Regions from separate parts of the Homo sapiens genome. Here all the other regions are linked to region 2. Evidence: promoter capture Hi-C in 16 types of primary human blood cells and fetal thymus (Javierre and others, 2016). All regions are on one chromosome and are shown on one strand. Each heading gives the region's core, a stretch centred on a gene start or on the middle of the fragment in contact. The rest is flanking DNA. Distances are from core to core; before and after follow the strand shown. Region 1 holds the start of DYNC1I2 (dynein cytoplasmic 1 intermediate chain 2). Region 2 holds the start of PPIG (peptidylprolyl isomerase G). Region 3 holds the start of HAT1 (histone acetyltransferase 1).

Evidence for each region. The method cuts DNA at HindIII sites, captures the fragments that hold promoters and counts their contacts. A CHiCAGO score of 5 or more calls a contact.
Region 1: a fragment that was not itself captured here is called in contact with the fragment with the promoter of PPIG in region 2 in 1 of 17 cell types (non-activated CD4 T cells); the score reaches 9.0 in non-activated CD4 T cells.
Region 3: the fragment with the promoter of HAT1 here is called in contact with the fragment with the promoter of PPIG in region 2 in 1 of 17 cell types (total B cells); the score reaches 8.2 in total B cells.

The regions. Positions count from the first base shown.
Region 1 is chr2:171,683,924-171,688,420 of GRCh38, reverse strand. It overlaps DYNC1I2 (dynein cytoplasmic 1 intermediate chain 2), which reads right to left and starts at 952. Exons shown (of 18, transcript NM_001378.3): 1 at 794-952. RefSeq lists an enhancer at 782-951. The HindIII fragment of the contact is 3,798 bases long and covers 1,105-4,497 here.
Region 2 is chr2:169,581,819-169,585,761 of GRCh38, reverse strand. PPIG (peptidylprolyl isomerase G) reads right to left here and starts at 1,411. Exons shown (of 14, transcript NM_004792.3): 1 at 1,272-1,411. RefSeq lists an enhancer at 1,446-1,495. The HindIII fragment of the contact is 789 bases long and covers 898-1,686 here.
Region 3 is chr2:171,920,110-171,924,428 of GRCh38, reverse strand. It overlaps HAT1 (histone acetyltransferase 1), which reads right to left and starts at 1,968. Exons shown (of 11, transcript NM_003642.4): 1 at 1,922-1,968. The coding sequence starts at 1,928. It overlaps LOC105373740 (a long non-coding RNA gene), which reads left to right and starts at 2,040. Exons shown (of 3, transcript XR_923579.2): 1 at 2,040-2,390; 2 at 3,198-3,349. RefSeq lists enhancers at 1,694-1,743, 1,884-2,532. The HindIII fragment of the contact is 14,743 bases long and covers 1-2,429 here.

The sequences.
Region 1 (4,497 bases), core at 1,754-4,253, 2.1 Mb before region 2:
TAAAGCCCAACAACAAAGTCTTGACCAGCTGAACTACAGCTGACCAATCCTCTCATCCTCACAGAAGCCAGAGCCTTCCTCCATGACCGACATGTTCACGTTCTTAAAACTCAAGAGAAGAGAGTCTCTAGAGTTTTGTGCTAGAACCTCCGTGTTCGGGGGCTTTCCATCACACATAAGGTGAGGGGAGACACTATCAAGGCAAGTAGAGATGGCCTTAATTTGTAAAATGGGGCAAGGCGAAAACGAATCACTTTCTCCCCTGGGGTCACGGCCAAGAGGGCGCGGTCCACGGCAGGGCGTCCGGAAGAAGCCAGTGGGCGCCGGACAAGCCTCAAGGCTCCCCAGGCCGCCTCTGGAGGGTCGAGAAGGGAAAGGAGTGGACTCCTCTCGCCGGGCCGCAATGAGTCACCGCACCCAGGTCTCCCCGCCTTTCCTCCCCAAAGCTGGGCCGGGCGGGGATGTCAGCAGGAACTGCCAAGCCGCCCTTCGAGTTGCGACGTGGAACACAGGCAGGGAGGCCTTGAGGGAAGAACAGTCAACCCACCTGTCAGGTGACTGGATGGGGAAGAGTCCTCCCGCCTGCAACTTCCCGGTAACGTCCCTCGCCTAAGCCCCCAACACCAACTGTAGCCACCACCAGCTCCGCGGCTTTCCAAAGCACACAAAGAGGGATGGGCGGCGGCTGCTACGGCGAGAGCTTAGGGACAAATAGCCTCACCAGAACGAGGTCGCTCCCAGAAATAAAAGGTGGGGCCCTGCTGCGAGGAATTGTAGCCCCTCCGTGACTTACCTGTCGTAAAGCAGAAGCCGGTAGATAAAACAAAGAACCCAGTCAACCCAGGGGCCTTAAGTATTTCCGCTTTGCCAAAAACTGGAAAACTACGCCTAATATTCTCAGGCCAGGAATCCAACTTCCGCCCTCGCCTTACAAACTGACACGATCGAGAAGAACTACAAACCCCGGCAACAAGGAAAACCTGCGTGCGACGAGCAGTGCGTTCTGGGAATTGTGGTCGCTGGGCGTCGCAAGGTGTGCTGGGACATGTAGTGTGTCCCCTCCTTTAGATTTCCCACTCCAAGGCCTTCTTCCGTCGAGAAGCTTCTGTATAAAGTATTCTCGTCTGTTGATCCGTGCCCACAGTGTAGTATGTGTTATAGTGTAAGATCTTTGACCCAATATTGGCGGAATTTTAAGGTCTATTTTCCAGTGGTGAACCTGTGAATCACGCTGCTGCACATTTGGTGAAGACGTGAAGTAGACTGTTTAGGATGTAAAACATTATATATATATATGTACATACATATGTAAGTTTTAGGGAAAGAATGTCTTATATAGGCTTCATGTGGCATCTTAGGCAAAATCTAAATAAAAATATGTCAACTGACATAGCAAATAATTCTTTAGTATTTTGTTGCAGTGTGGTAGCATTTTGGTTTTCTCTCAAACAATTTTAGGAAATAAAGCATTTTGTATTATTGGACTCTCAAACCAAGCTAGAATGTTTTCCACAGTTAGATTTTTAACATACAAAGAAAACAAAAGTTACTGGAACATGAATTTACCTGCAATGTATACATTGACACACCTTTTTAAAGTTTAAATAATTTAAAGCATTATTTGGCAGGAGTTAAAGCTAACACCAAGGTAATATCTTTTCTATGTTCTAGAAAACTGATTGTTCTAGAAGTTCTAGATATTGCCCAAGTCTAGAATGAACCTTTATGATTCAAATTCCAAGTCCTTGGGCTTGTGGTCTTTTTCTTATCTTTCTCTGCCTTATCTGTGGTCTTTTGTGTAGAAAAAAATATTCTAAAAATAAATTTGAGAAAGAAAATCCTTGGCTTTCCACAGCTTTTCCCAATAACCTAACATTCAAAGAGCTTTATAGCTATGTTATTTTTTTACTTCTTTCCTAATAGTTTTCATGTATTAATTTGAAAAAAAATTATTATTGATTGCCTACCATGTGCCAGCAATGGTGATGGGTGTTGTGGTAACAGCTAAAATGGACCAGGCGCAGTGGCTCACACCTGTAATCCCAGCACTTTGGGAGGCCGAGGCAGGCAGATCACCTGAGCTCAGGACTTAGAGACCAGCCTGGGCAACATGGTGAAACCCCGTCTCTACAAAAAATAGAAAAATTAGCAGGGTGTGTGGCATGCGCCTGTAGTCCTAGCTAGTCACGAGGCTGAGGCAGGAGGATGGCTTGCGCCCAGGAGGCGGAGGTTATAGTGAGCTGAGATTACACAATTGCATTCCAGCCTGGGAGACAGAGCAAGACCCTGCCTCAAAAAAAAAAAAAAGAAAAAGAAACAAAAAAAACAAAAAACATAAAAATGCACAAAAATGCACATCCTTCTTCTCAAGGGAGAAAGGACACTCGCTCAACTAAGAATGGATGGTTCCTGACTGATGGTTTAACTTATGATTTTTTTCTCATTACAATGGGCTTATTAGAGTAAAATGCATTTTCAACATATATTTTTGACTTAAAATGGGTTTATCAGGACATAACTCAAGGAGCATCTGTATAATGATGGAATTATATAAGGAAGTCATAGAAACACCTGGAAAAACTTTTCAGGAAACTTTTGGAAGGAGGTGATTCTAGAGCTAAGTCTTTGATTCTCAAAGGTTGAGTAGAAGAAGTTAGCCAAGCAGAGAAGATGCAGAAAGGTGCCTTGGGAAGAGAAAAGAATATGGACAAAGGACAGAGGTGTGAGAGCATAGAATGCTGGTGAATTTGGAAATAATTCACAATGGCCGTAGGCTAAGACAGGAACTGGGGAATGAAGCCATAAGCAGGGGCAAAGTCGCACATCCCAGTTTAGATTTAGTCCTACAGATGATGTGAATCCACTGGTAGATTTTAAGAGGGTGCAAGGTATGAGAAGGTTTGCATTTTAGATGACTGGCCTTTCAAAGTAGTCCGGAGAAAGACTAATGTGCTGGTTATTTTCTTTGCCCCCCAGATTCATTTCCTGCCCTTCTTTGCTAAGCTCTATGCCTCTGAGGGTTGACCTCAGTTTCTTTAAGGACTGCTTTGTGGTTGGACATAAAGAAGGCCAAGGCAAGGATATCAGAAGGTGGGTAGAAAGGGAAATTGGGGCATCTCTTCCTTGCTCCTTCCTTCTTTGAGTGTCAGATGTCCAGCAATAGCTTCATTCCTTCATGACTACAGTACCTGCCAGATGGCTCTTTCACCATGGCTCTAGTTTTCCCCGGGCTGTCTGGTGATTTTATGTTCTCCTTTTATCTCTTGAACACCTCCTCTGTAGCTAGTCTCTGAGTGCCTCATCATCTCGTTTGTTCCCTTAATACCCGCTCACCCCTCTGTAACTTGTCCTTTCATTAAAGTATTTTCATGTGAACTATCTTGTGAATTCTGTTTCTTGTTGAGACCCTTGTTGATACAGCTTGCCTAGAGGGATGAGAGGTGGAGAAAGAGGTAAGGTAGAGACTGGAAGCAGGGAATGCAACTGGAAGAATTTGGGTAGAGCCAGCAATTATAAATGCATGAACTGATGCATCATCAGTGAGAATTAAGAAAAGTAGATGGATTGGAGAAATGTTAACATTATGTGAGACTTCTACAGCAATAAAGCAGACTAGATACCTCTTCCCACTGAAAACCACTCAATATACTGGCTGGATAATGTAGCTTTTGAGTGGGTACAGTGGCTCATGCCTATAATCCCAGCACTTTGGGAGGCCAAGGTGGGAGGATCACTTGAGCCCAGGAGTTCGAGACCAGCCTGGGCAAGATGGCAAAACCCCATTTCTGTAAAAAATTTTAAAATTAGCTAAATATGATGGTACTCACCTGTAGGCCCAGCGACTTGGGAGGCTAAGGGCGGGAGGTTTGCTTGAATCCAGGAATTTGAGGCTGCAGTGAACTATAATCACACCATTGCACTCCAGCCTGGGTGACAGAGTGACATCCTATTGCTTAAATAAATAAATAAAATTTAAAAAAATGTTTTAAGATATGAAATACGTAACTAAAAAACCCCCCACTTTTTTGTTGTTTTATTTTTAACACTTTTTTGAAGAAATGCATTAGCAGCACTGATTAGAAAGACTGTACCCTGGACATTACATAGTTCAAACCACTATGTCTTCCTACTTTTTAAGTTGGAAGGGCTGGGGAGGAGTCCTAATAAGCATTAGTGCTGCAGGGTGTTTTCGAAGGGGAGAATTTGCATTTTAAAACTTCTTATAATGGTTTGTAGGAGAGGGTAGAAATATAATATATACAGATGAATTTGTTGAACAAACTCATATCTGGATTTACACTTGAATTCAATATGCCAATGTTTGCAAAATTTTAATACAATTAATATATTGACATAATGCAGGATTTCATTTATATAGAATGCAAAAGAAGGTAAAACTAATCTAATGAAATGTCAGAATAGTGGCTATTGAGGTATAGGGATATTGATGGCAAGGGATATGGGGAGGTTTCTGCGGTGCTGGGAATGTTTCATTTC
Region 2 (3,943 bases), core at 162-2,661:
CTATGTTAGTACCAAACTATAAAAGCAAATACTTTTGTATTTGTGTTCACTACTGCAAAATGTTGGTTACACACAGAAAGGGCTATCGTGGAAAGAAATTAAAATCAATGCACAAAATGGTGCTTTTATAGCATTTCCAAAACGATTGTGCATACTCCTTGCCAGCACATCTAGACTTTGCTCCTTAAGACTAAACATGAGCTGGCCGTGCGCGGTGGCTCTCGCCTGTAATCCCAGCACTTTGGGAGGCCGAGGTGGGCGGATCACGAGGTCAGGAGATCGACCATCCTGGCTAACACGGTGAAAACCCGTCTCTACTAAAAACACAAAAAATTAGCCGGGCATGGTGGCACGTGCCTGTAGTCCCAGCTACTTGGGAGGCTGAGGCAGAAGAATCACTTGAACCCAGGAGGCGGAGGTTGCAGTGAGCCAAGATCGCGCCACTGCATTCCAGCCTAGGCGACAGAGCGAGACTCCGTCTCAAAAAAAAAGACTAACCAAGAACCAAATTAGCATACTTCCCCTTCAGGCATACTGAGCCCCGAAATCATCATCTTCCTCCTAAAGAGTAATTATCTCCTCCTAAAAGGCCTGCGCAGCTCACAGCTCCTCCGAAACACGGGGGAACTTCGCGAGAGCTCAAGACCCTGGACTTGAGTTTTAGAAAAATGCTTAACAAAGTGGCCTCTGCCACTTAACTGCACGACAGCCACTGTGCTGTGAGAGGAAAAGGTCGAAAGAGGAGGAAAGCTAGTCTTCAATTTTAATCCCTGTGATTCAGGCTCTTCGCCCGTCACTCTCCAACCCTAGCCTGACAGGACGTCAGGCTGTCTCCCCCTTCCCCACCAGTCCCGCCACCTACCCCGCAACAGTGCTGAGTCTTAGGATTTTGAAGCTTTAAAAATCAACCCGGCTCCCTAGAGTTCAGGCCGCAGTCGCTGCCGCCATGTTACAGCTTGTGCGGCAAAATGCGTCAGTGAGGGAGGTGTGCGCCTGAGTGGGGAGGGCGGGGGCTGGCAGAGGAAGGACCGTCCCCAGGCCCCGGGGCTCGACTGCAAGCCTTCTCCTTCTGCAACAGCGGCAAAGGCACTGCTGCGGTCCTCAGGGACTTCCTCTGGGCCCAAGCAGCCCCGATACCTCGAGGGAAAGACGGTAAACCCAACCCGGTCAGCCGCGCCGGCTCCGCCCCTCTTCCCAGGCCCTTCCCGCTTTCGTACGCAGGGACTGCTGAAATGACGCCGCCAGAACAACTTGAGCCTCATACCACTTACCTGCACCGGTAGAGTTTTCCTCTTCTCTGGGTCCGGTCCTTTGAAGCGCTTCAAATCTACCGCCGCCAGAAAAGGCGCTAAAGCCCGCTAACCGCCTCCCTCCCCCACAACTCAGTCCTGGCATGGAGAGACAGCGTCGCACCGGAAGCGCGTCAGGAGTGGGTTGTCAGCATCGGCCAGCGTTCACCTGCTTGCGTCACCACGCCCTCCTAGGACTTCTAGGATTTTGGTGCCTTTTAAATTCCTAGTTTATAGGTGGCCTAATGCTTTGTGGATGCGTTGACTGGGAACGCTTGTAACCGTTAAAATGCCATATCCTTTGTGAAGTAAAGTGCCTCATTTAATAAACATTTATTGATCTTACGCTAGGTTATCAGAAAGGAAGGCCTACCTTCATGGAGCTTCCAGTTAAGCTTCCACTTAACGCTAGGATATAAGTTCTAAAAACGCAGTAATGAGCAAAGTGTTATTTGAGGAAAGAGGAAGAAATTACAAAGAGCTTTGATGTTCTTTGTTGTTTTACAGATAAAGAAATTGAGGCTCAGGGAAGATAAACGCCTCCTCCTCAAACACACTGTTCTTGAATGCCAAAGCAAGTCTTTTGATGCCAAATCTAGTGCCTTCTAGAGAAAATATGGCATATATTATTTAATTATTTTAAGGGGCAAGGGTCCCCGGATTATGTTAGAAATAAATAACCATTGCTGTTTGGGCGGGGGGGTGGGGGGGGATGGGCAGTGATTCTGGTAGGGATGTGGGGTGTGTTTTAAAGGAACTAGCTAACTAGAGGACTTAAATTGTTCTGTCGTTTAAAGGCAACGTAAATTATGATCATTTAAATTTTTCACTCACTTGCATCAGGTAAATTAATTATCAACAACAGTTAGGCATGTGGTGGTGCTTCTAAGGGGCGTGACCAGTTTTACACAGCAGTAAAACAGAGGACATTTCTGCCTCTCCACCCCCACCTCTTTTAAGTCATTGCCCTTTATTGCAGGAGAGCAGCAGCATATTCATCTTTAGATAGTTCAGAGATTAAACGGATTTACACTTCGCTGTGTGTGGAGGGGACAATTCTGCAATACCTTAAAACAGGGGTCCCCAACCCCTGGGCCACAGACTGGCCTGGCTAATTTTTTGTATTTTTAGTAGAGACAGGGTTTCTCCATGTAGGTCAGGCTGGTCTCAAACTCCCAACCTCAGGTGATCCGTCCTCCTTGGCCTCCCAAAGTGCCGGGATTACAGGTGTGAGCCACCACGCCCGGCCAACGCTTTTCGAAAGAAGACATACTTGCAGCCAACAATCATAATGAAAAAGCTCAACACCACCAATCATCAGAAAAATGCAAATCAAAACCGCAGTGAGATACTATCTCATACCAGTCAGAATGGCTATTATTAAAAAGTCAAAAAATAACAGGTGCTGGTGAGGTTGTGGAGAAAAAGGAACATTTTACAGTGCTGGTGGGAGTTTAAATGAATTCAACTATTGTGGAAGACAGCGTGGCGATTCCTCAAAGACCTAGAGGCAGAAATACCATTTGACCCAGCAATCACATTACTGGGTATATACCCAAAGGAATATAAGTTGTTCTGTTATAAAGACATACACATATGTATGTTCATTGCCACACTATTCACAATAGCGAAGACATGGAGTCAACCTAAATGTCCATCAATGGTAGACTTGATAAAGAAAATGTGGTACATATACTCCATGGAATACTATGCAGCCATGAAAAAGAATGATCTCATGCCCTTCGCAGGAACATGGATGGAGCTGGAGACCATTATCCTTAGCAAACTAATGCAGAAACAGAAAACCAAGTACCACATGTTCTCACTTATAAGTGGGAGCTAAATGATGAGAACACATGAAGACATAGAGGGGCACAATACACACTGGGGCCTATCAGAGTGTAGACAGTGGGAGGAGGGAGAGGATCAGGAAAAATAACTAATGGGTCCTAGACTTAATACCTAGGTGATGAAATATTCTGTACAACAAACCCCCATTACACAAGTTTACCTCTGTAACAAACCTGCATATGTACCCCACAACTTAAATAAAAATAAATAAATGGAAGGATACTGTATGTATAGTGTATATAATAAACAACATTTGTTATCCTATAGTTTCCTTATATATATTTATATATATATTTATTATCCTAGTGTGTGTATGTATACATATACTATATATGTGTATATATACATATATATACACACACATATATGTACGTGTGTGTGTATATATGTGTATATATATATAAATAAGTGTTGTTTAAGCCACTAAGTTTTGGGATGATTTTGTCACACAGCAAGGGATAACTGACACAGAGAAGAAAGAATAGACTGATTATCACGGAACTTTTCACTTGTCTAATTCTACATAGCTTCATTTTTTTTCTTTTTTTCTAGAGACAGGGTCTCATTATGTTGCTCAGGATGGACTTGAACTCCTGGAGTCAAGCGATTCTCCCACCTTAGTCTCCAGAGTAGCTGGGACTACAGGTATGTACCACCTCACCCAGTGATGACCTCACATCATAAGGATCTGAGTTTCTGCCAGCCCGAATCATCAAATGCCAGAGAAGTATTTTACTAACATAGCAGTAACAGCTCCAAAATTTGTACTCCCACTTACATAGTAGGGGGTGTCACTGGAAAGT
Region 3 (4,319 bases), core at 719-3,218, 2.3 Mb before region 2:
GAGGTCGAGACGGATATCATCCTGGCCAACATGGTGAAACCCCATCTCCACTAAAAATACAAAAATTAGCTGGACGTGGTGGCGCGTGACTGTAGTCCTAGCTACTCCGGAGGCTGAGGCAGAATTGCTTGAATCCAGAAGGCAAAGGTTGCCGAGATCGCGCCACTGCACTCCAGCCTGGTGACAGAGCGAGACTCAGTCTCCAAAAAAAAAAAAAATCAGTAAAAATTCAGACAGAAAAAAGCCATAAGCAAAAAATAAAAAGGGGTACAATGATGTGCTATAAACTTCAAAAAGGGGTTAAAACACACACACAGAAAATGGGAAAGACTTGAAGCAGTACAGATTAATAGTCTGGAGTGAGAATTCCTGGATTCTGACTATTTCACACACTTACTGAGCTAGTAAGCTCAGGGAACTAGAGCACATTACTTAACCCCTCTGACCCTAATCTACAGAACCGAGATTACAGAATTTACTTCGAGGAATGTAAGCAACAAAATTTAACCTGTGAAATCATATATTAGCTCAATCTGCACAATTCTATAAGTAGGTATTACATCAACCCCATTTTACATTCAAAAGTTCAGGCTTAGAAAGAGGTTTAGTTGAAGGGCATCCAACTACTAAATGATGGGCCCAAAATTCGAATTTAGATGTAATTCTTAGAGTACGTCCTCCCTCTTCTGTGGTACTTCAAGATCCTACAATCTCCATCTGGTAGAAAAGTCCTTCTTTAAACATCTGTAGAGCTCACACAACAGCTTGTCTATCCCACATATTCATAAAAATGGAATGGTTAATGTAGAGAGACTATGAGGAATGCCCTGTAAAGAGATGATAAAAGCAACAAAGGCCAGCGAAGTGGCTCAATCCTGTCATTCCAACACTTTGGGAAGCTGAGGCGAGAGGATGGCTTGAGGCCAAGAGTTCCAGACCGGCCTGAGGCAATACAGCCAGACTCTGTCTCTAAAAGGTTAAAAAAAATTGTTTTTTTTTAGCCGAATGTTGTGGCGCATGCCTGTAGTCCTAGCTACTCGGGAGGCTGAGGCAAGAGGATCGCTTGAGCCTACGAGGAGTTGGAAGCTGCCCGGAACTATGATCGCTGCACTCCAGCCTGGGCGACAGAGAGACCCTGTCTCAGGAAAAAGAAACTGTCCATAACTTCAAAAGATAAGTAATCGAAAAAAATAATCACACCAAAACAGCCTTAATACACGTACAAAGTAATAGCAATTATACATTATTAAATGTTGTAACTTGAAGGGTCTCTAGAATGTACACAAGAGAATTGTATTATAGTAGTCCAACCCTAAAAGAGAAGGGAGCAGTTCAGGAACAAAGTCTTTCTCAAAGGGCATCTAAATACGATCCTCGGAATACTAAAGTGTGACAGATTAACGAGACGACTACGAAGTCAGTCGAGATCCAAGTGGGAGCGCCAGAGCAGGGCAAGGCAGCAATGCGCTAGCTCAGAAGTTGACTGTAGTGGAAGGTAGACGGAGACCTGGAAGAGGAGGAGGATCTGAGCATTAAAATCAGCTGGCGGGAACAGGACCAGATGTACAAGAGCTGAAGCAAGCAGCAGTGGACAAAAGGAATGGGAAGAGAAACAGGCCCCAAGGCATGTGGCATTTTACGAGCCCAAATCATGACGCTTTTCCCTGGCGTCTTCGGCCCTCGGTAGGGGCCGGATTGCTGGCAGAAGGCGCAGAACCCCAAGCAGTTGGGGGCGGGGGCGCGGACCGCCGCCAACAAGGAGCTGCTGGGCTGAGAGTTCCGCGCTTCCGGTCCCAAGCAGGCCTTCTGGAACCCAGGCTACAGCCCGAAAGTTCTAGGCGGGCATTGTCACCACCGTCTCGGCGTTCTATCCCCGATCTGGCCGCCTCCTCCCCTTGGTAAACTTTTCCCGGTAACTTACCCGCCATTTCCGAGCTACGATCACCCGCGGCTGAGGAAGGACGAATCAACCCGCGCGCTCCCGGGCCGGAAGTGACCGCACAGTCTGACATATTTTCCCCGCCCACTCCCAGCGTGACGTTAGCCAATTAAAGGAGGCGTGTCCAGGAGCCCGGCGGCGGAAGCGCCTCAAGAGGCGGGGCTAACGCCGAGAAGTCTGCGCGGGCCGTTGCCTAGCCACTGCGAATGCCGTCAGCCGCTTTGCAGGCCTGAAGTGGAGAAGGAGGCCGCAAACGGACTTTCGCGGTTGAGATGCTCTCTGGCCCTAGGAAAGTTTCTCTGGGGTTGATTTGATCAATACAGACACTTTACGCCTGTTTTCCATACCCGTCCCTGAGATGTTTTGGAGACTGGCTGAAAATCTTTCCTCTTGGCCTGGACAGTGCATCCAAACACCTGAGCCCTGTGGGCAATTTTACCATTTTACCTAGGTAAAATGTAGAGGTTGAGTTTCAGTTGCGGGAGAAGCTTTCACTTGTTTTCCTCATTTGTTTCTCATTTTGCTGTAAACTTTAACACCTTTTTTCCTTTCTCCCCTGTTTTTAACGTATACAGTATGATATTTAGGTACTCTGCTTTCACTCTGCAGGTTACTAAGAACCGTTTAGCGCGCAAAAATCGTTACCTAGGCCGGGCGCGGTGGCTCACGCCTATAATCCCAGCACTTTGGGAGGCCGAGGCGGGTAGATTGCCTGAGCTCAGGAGTTCGAGACCAGTGTAGCCAACATAGTGAAACCCCGTCTCTACTAAAAATACAAAAATTAGCCAGGCATGGTGGCAGGCGCCTGTAATCCCAGCTACTCGGGAGGCTGAGGCAGGAGAATCGCTTGAACCCTGGAGGCGAAAGTTGCAGTGAGCCGAGATTGCGCCACTACACTCCAGCCTGGGCAACAGAGTGAGACTCCGTCTCAAAAAAAAAAAAAAATTGTTACCTAATAAATACCTCAAGTAGCCTGATGTAGTCTTGCATGCCACATGTCCTAGTGGTTTGAATTACATCACAAGGTGCTACCTGATTTTAGCCATAGGCCTTGTTAGTATTTAGTAGCTGTAGGAACTGCTTTCCCCAGAGGATAAACCACTATTTAGGTATCCACAAATATTCCCACAATGTTGGCTATACACCAGAATTCCTTATCTCAACAAATATTTGTTAACAGGTTTTACAGTGATGCACGCTAAAGCTAAAATGGACCCTTGGGATGATGGTCTAGAACTAACACGCCCTCTCATTTTAGAGATGAGGAAACCAAAGCCCAGAAAAGATAAACTGCCCAAGTTCATTCTCAGTATGCAACCTATGCAGAGTGCAGTTCATCAGATACTCAGCCCAGTATTTATTTGCTCAACTATATAGAGATGGCTTTCCTGAAGATAAAGATCAGAAAAGGTACTGAGAATGCCCAGATCCTTTTTCTTTCTTTTTTTTTTTTTTTTTTTTAGACGGAGTTTCACTCTTGTTGCCCAGGCTGGAGTGCAATGGCACAATCTCAGCTCACCACAGCCTCCGCCTCCCGGGTTCAAGCGATTCTTCTGCCTCAGCCTCCTGAGTCGCTGGGATTACAGGCATGCGCCACCACACCCAGCAATTTTGTATTTTTGTAGAGACGGGGTTTCTCCATGTTGGTTAGGCTGATCTCGAACTCCCAACCTCAGATGATCTGCCCATCTCGGCCTCCAAAAGTGCTGGGATTACAGTCGTGATCCCAAGAAAAGGTTTCAAGATCCTTTTTCTTGAAACCTAATGATACACAAGAAATTACAGTCATAGGCCGGGCGTGGTGGCTCACGCCTGTAATCCCAGCACTTTGTGATGCCGAGGCGGGCGGATCACGAGATCAGGAGATCCAGACCATCCTGACTAACATGGTGAAACCCTGTCTCTACTAAAAATACAAAAAAAGTAGCCGGGCGTGGTAGCGGGTGCCTGCAGTCCCAGCTACTCAGGAGGCTGAGGCAGGAGAATGGCGTGAACCTGGAAGGCGGAGCTTGCAGTGAGCCGAGATCCCGCCACTGCACTCCAGCCTGGGCAAGAGCGAGACCCCGTCTCAAAAAAAAAAAAAGAAATTACAGTCATAATGTTAAGACAGAAAACTGAAATCAATGAGACTAATGACATTATGGATCAAAAAAGGAAAACAATCTTTTTCTTTAATAATCATTTTTGGCTAGGCACGGTGGCTCACACCTGTAATCCCAGCACTTGGGAGGCCAAGGCAGGCAGATCACCTGAGGTCAGGAGTTTGAGACCAGCCTGGCCAACATGGTAAAACCCTGTCTCTACTAAAAAGTACAATAAATTAACCAGGCGTGGTGACATGAGCCTGTAATCTCAACTACTTGGGAGGCTGAGGCAGTAG